2 separate regions of the Homo sapiens genome follow, and region 1 is linked to region 2. Evidence: promoter capture Hi-C in 16 types of primary human blood cells and fetal thymus (Javierre and others, 2016). All regions are on one chromosome and are shown on one strand. Each heading gives the region's core, a stretch centred on a gene start or on the middle of the fragment in contact. The rest is flanking DNA. Distances are from core to core; before and after follow the strand shown. Region 1 overlaps LOC124903278 (a long non-coding RNA gene). Region 2 holds the start of OR11H6 (olfactory receptor family 11 subfamily H member 6).

Region 1 (2,945 bases), core at 120-2,619, 300 kb before region 2:
TGTGTAGATTATTTACAAAAGTCAATTAGATAAATAACAATACTTTTAGGATTCCAGAAAAAAAGCTCTGCAGAAGCCAACTGCTTACTATTTAAAAATAGATCTTAGTATGCTGTTGGGTCTTATCAGGGACTAAGTACCTGACCATTGATTTCCAAGTGACTGCCTACATGAAAAGCACTGCTCATCATGAACTGTTATCAGATTTATTAAATCATAATTTCTAGCTGCCACAGCAGCAAGCCATCACACATTGGAAATGGCATGTGTAGGACCACGCTGAAGCAGGTATAAAGGCACTAGGAATTGGTATGAACAGATAGTCTAAATCCCTTATCAAGTATTTCTGTGGCATTAATATATTTTCTTAAGCTCAATATTATGGCCTCATGAGAGAGTTTCTACGGATGACTTCATTCTATGCCTTGGTGCAAGCCAAAAAATGGGACTGCTGCTGCATTACTACTCACTCAGATGACCTTCATGGACACTCAGGAGGAAGAATTCTCTCATTGGCCAGAGCCATAAACATTGCACTTAGTTATCAGATTTAGATGGAGAATTGGTCATAAGTAAAAATAAACATGAATTTGTGGGCTTTGAAAAATGGCTTTGCTAGCTTGTTAGGGGTCTTGAAGATCAAAATTGAAAATTGGAGGAAAGTAGTCTGGGAGGGAAGAATGAGGATGAACGTATGTGAGTGGGCTCTAAGTGTGTAGATTTTTGTACTTTACAACAATGCCTATCAGGGACCAAAAACATGGACTCTCTTTTATCAAGGTTAGTCTCATACCACTGCTACAGCTCCTGAATGCTTGGTCTGTTGGCAGAAGGGAGTCATGCTGCAACCTTGTTATGGTGCCATTCTGCAGAAAGACCACATCCATTTGGTGGCAAATCAACTGTATCACACCCCTTCCTCTGAAGGGGGGGTAGTGATTTGTCTTTATTGGAATTCATTCCTATTCCTGATGTGAGTTTTCCCTCTCTACCTGTAGTCCTTCTCCCCAGACACAATTCCAGGGCACACAGAGTGTTTGACATATGGATATAGGATTCCACAGAGATTGTCTCTGGAATTATAGACAAAAGTATTTACAGTGAAGAAACTGGAATTTATTGAATTTACAGTGAAGAGGTGTGACAATAGAGACATATCATGGATCCATTTTTCTGGGAAGCTTCCAGCCACAAACAAGATTGGAATGACCTTTAAAAGCCTCAGATAAAAGTCTGTTGTTGAGATTATACTCACATTTTTTGAGATGGTGAACTCCAAAATGTAATATATTTGTTGAAATGACAGTTAATTTGCAATTTTGTGTCACCAGTAGCTAAAATACTCACAATCAGATAACAAGGAATAGACAAGGCATAGATTGGACTCTCTCTGCATCATTCCCATTGATCCACTTATGGATTTTGTGGTTCCTGTCCCAACAATTCTAGGATTTACTATGATCTTGCTTATTTATTTATTTTATTTATTTATTTATTTATTGCTAGTGGTTTATTGAATGTCTTGCTTCTATGGCTAGAACTATACTTCAGTTATGGAAAGCTTTTAGCCAGGATCTCTTCAGCTATTGTTTTAGTCTTGTGCTCTCTTCTTCTGTGACTTCAATTATGTTTATCTTTCTCCAATGTGTCGCTAATTCATGTCTTGTCTTTGCCACCTTTGCCAATTTAACTGACAATAGAAAGCTTTTTTTTAAAATTCCTATTTGTTTATTTTACATTTCTCTAAATAATAAATAGGGTTTTTATTTTTAATTGGGCATATTTTTTGCCTCTTAAATTAAAATGTTACCTGTTTTCTACTTTAAGTATGTTTACTAAGTATAAAATGTATGTTTCTATTTAGATTTTCATTGACAAATAATTAACATATTTTCTCCCCAAATTACTCCAAATTATGTTGACATTTTTTCAATCTGTAAGGTAAAGATGTCTTATTATTGTCATAGAGTTGCAGAGTATTTCTGTTCTTTTGAACTCCTTGTGCATCTGCTCATTTTTCTACTTATTGATATTTCTTTATTTTAATTACTAATAATATTTTGATTTACAAGGAATTAGTCTCATTGGTCATATATGTTGCACATATTTTATAGTTTGCTTTTTTATTTAATGTTGATTGTGGGTTTTTTTGATATATCAAATCTAAAAATGATTAAGTCAATCAATTCTATCCATTACATAGCCATATATTTATGGCTTCTTTAACATCATGCTTTAGAGGCCTTACCAACTCCAAGATTATAAAAAAATCTTCACGTGCTTTTTTCTAATTTTTAAAACTTAATCTTTGATCCAATTAAAATTTATTTTGCTTTTATAACTGTATGCAGATAGAAATTTACTTTTTCCCATGAATTTCATTTATATAGTAATCTACATTTCTTTAAATTATTATAAATATTATTATATAGTTTATACATATATATTTGGTTATATTTCTGGATACTATTCTGTTTCATTTATTTTTTATATATAGATATATATAATTAAAATAATATAATATGTGCATTTTATACATATCACACTCTGTGTGTGTGTGTGTGTGTGTGTGTGTGTGTGTGTGTGTGTGTGTGCGTATGGGGGGAGAGAGAGAGAGACAGAGACAGAGAGCATGGACCAAAATATTTCACCTTGGAGCTTTTCTTATTTTTTTTGGTAAAGTTACTTCTGGTTATTTTTCTCTTGCAAATATTTCTTGTCTACTGTCACACAATTTATCTCCTAGTAATCTTTGTAGGCTATTTTAATAATGGTTATTTTATGCAATCAAAAGAAATGATTTCTAATCATCCTGAGCAAAATGGAATTATTAGGAGGATTTGGCATTATCTGCATATTTGATAGTACATTTAGAGAAGCAGCCTCATAAAATGAGCAGAACCATTAGAAGCCAGACAGCACGAAAAACAGTCAAGATTATGCTT
Region 2 (2,700 bases), core at 181-2,680:
AACATTTATGCTTTTGGGTTTGCTCCAGGTTTGATCAAGTACTGAAAGGCAGGCCTCTCGCTCTCTGTGGATCATATAAATGATGTAAAGATGGAATTTTGTGAGTATCTTAACAGTGACGCTAATAATACAATAAATTATCCTAATTTTAAAGTCATTATATTGCTAAATTTAAAATATTGATAGTGGCTTACCCAGCCAAATATTCTGAACTTTAACAAGGATATTTGAGGACACAGAAATAAGCCTGCTGGACCAATAGTTTCTAGAAAATTGTTAGCAAAATATCTAAGTTATTTATCTTGTCTCAACTCCTGATTTAGAAAATATCAGAAAGATCTTTCTGTTCTCTGCACATCCTGAGGTGACTCTTTTATTCATTATTTAATTTATGGAAAAGCAAGATAATGAAGGGACAAATTATAAAGTTTAGGACTTAATTTCTAGCAAAAATAAAGGCACATGGCTTTATTACTAGAGAAATTGATTTACCCAACAGCAAGCTCCCTCAAGAGCTAAGTCATGATGTAGAATAGTACAATTTGTTGGAGAAGGAGGCTGACAAGCAGGGAAAATGGTGGCCTGCCAAAGAAGTCATAGGTAAGGGACATAACAGCTGCCTTCAGTTATTTAAGACCTCACTACCACCATCATGGGAGAGGAATTAGACTTATTTTGTGTAGTTTCAACAAAGTCAAAGTTTACCTGCTGACTTGGGGAGTACCAAGATCAATGGGTAAAAGTAATAAAGGATACAAAGTTTGCTCACCATAAAGAAGGGCTTTGAGAGAACTAGAGCTCCTCACGAGAAAAAGGGGCTGGATTATTCAGCAAATCCAGATGCCACCAGGGAGAATGTGATCTGGGGGGAACTAGATTTGTAGCTTTCAGACCATTTTACAGATTCCTAAGGGTTCTGCAGCACCTCCCTGAGAGTAGCAAAAGGAAGGGAGCTGAAGACTCCCCAAAGTTTAATTCCTATCTGCTTTTTATTGGACTTCTACATATGAGGCTCTAAGAAGGCAATTTTAATATAGCAACTATTCTTGCTTCAGATTTATACTCAATTTTGCTTTAAAGTAAAAGAATATATCCAAAGTTTATATTTATATGTAGAGTATCTAAGGGGCAGTGATTTTACCATTAAAGATGAAACATTACTGAGACTCAGGGTTATAGAAAATTTGAAGTGAAACATGATTTGTTCCAAACCAATCTCCAAATAGGCCAGTGTATCTGGGCGTTACTGGCTTTGTACATATGTTTAAGTGAACCCTTCTAATCTCTTTGAACTTCAATTACCCTGTCTGTGAAAGAGAAGGGTAAAGAATACCTCCTCGCAGCTCAAAGAGTCATTAGGAAGACCAAATGAGATAATGTATGTAAAAATACTTAGTACATCATCCAGCATGAGTTAGCAAAATCTCCAAATGTTCTTTATTATTCATTCTTTGGTTACTTCTGTTTTTCTAACAGCTTTGGGACCCCAGAACAGAACAATGCATTTTGTGACTGAGTTTGTCCTCCTGGGTTTCCATGGTCAAAGGGAGATGCAGAGCTGCTTCTTCTCATTCATCCTGGTTCTCTATCTCCTGACACTGCTAGGGAATGGAGCTATTGTCTGTGCAGTGAAATTGGACAGGCGGCTCCACACACCCATGTACATCCTTCTGGGAAACTTTGCCTTTCTAGAGATCTGGTACATTTCCTCCACTGTCCCAAACATGCTAGTCAATATCCTCTCTGAGATTAAAACCATCTCCTTCTCTGGTTGCTTCCTGCAATTCTATTTCTTTTTTTCACTGGGTACAACAGAGTGTTTCTTTTTATCAGTTATGGCTTATGATCGGTACCTGGCCATCTGTCGTCCATTACACTACCCCTCCATCATGACTGGGAAGTTCTGTATAATTCTGGTCTGTGTATGCTGGGTAGGCGGATTTCTCTGCTATCCAGTCCCTATTGTTCTTATCTCCCAACTTCCCTTCTGTGGGCCCAACATCATTGACCACTTGGTGTGTGACCCAGGCCCATTGTTTGCACTGGCCTGCATCTCTGCTCCTTCCACTGAGCTTATCTGTTACACCTTCAACTCGATGATTATCTTTGGGCCCTTCCTCTCCATCTTGGGATCTTACACTCTGGTCATCAGAGCTGTGCTTTGTATTCCCTCTGGTGCTGGTCGAACTAAAGCTTTCTCCACATGTGGGTCCCACCTAATGGTGGTGTCTCTATTCTATGGAACCCTTATGGTGATGTATGTGAGCCCAACATCAGGGAACCCAGCAGGAATGCAGAAGATCATCACTCTGGTATACACAGCAATGACTCCATTCTTAAATCCCCTTATCTATAGTCTTCGAAACAAAGACATGAAAGATGCTCTAAAGAGAGTCCTGGGGTTAACAGTTAGCCAAAACTGAGATATCTTTGAAAAAGAAGCCAAATTGGCCACTTCTGACCTTAATTTTTTATAACTATAGAGAGTAGCTTCAGTAGTATGTTCTGGCTCACACTCAGGTAGACAGACTTATCTTTCACAGTTCCTTAGCAGTTAAATTCAGCTCATTAATGATAAATGCCAATGCTCAATAAAACATTTTAAACATATGTGGCCTCACTGAGTAGTTATGTGGTGGGTGGGTGTATATATACGTATATTATTTTTCTGTGATGTATCTTTGCTAGTTTTAATCTTAG

What was found. The method cuts DNA at HindIII sites, captures the fragments that hold promoters and counts their contacts. A CHiCAGO score of 5 or more calls a contact.
Region 1: a contact is called between a fragment that was not itself captured here and the fragment with the promoter of OR11H6 in region 2, in 1 of 17 cell types (erythroblasts). The highest score is 5.4, in erythroblasts.

What each region holds. Positions count from the first base shown.
Region 1 is chr14:19,926,812-19,929,756 of GRCh38, forward strand. The region is part of intron 2 of LOC124903278 (a long non-coding RNA gene); the gene reads right to left. It also overlaps a transcript of OR4K1 not described here. Among named protein-coding and RNA genes, the nearest start is that of OR4K1, 2.6 kb to the right of the region's middle. The HindIII fragment of the contact is 380 bases long and covers 1,180-1,559 here.
Region 2 is chr14:20,222,280-20,224,979 of GRCh38, forward strand. It overlaps OR11H6 (olfactory receptor family 11 subfamily H member 6), which reads left to right and starts at 1,431. Exons shown (of 1, transcript NM_001004480.1): 1 at 1,431-2,423. The coding sequence starts at 1,431. The coding sequence ends at 2,423. The HindIII fragment of the contact is 8,071 bases long and covers 1-2,191 here.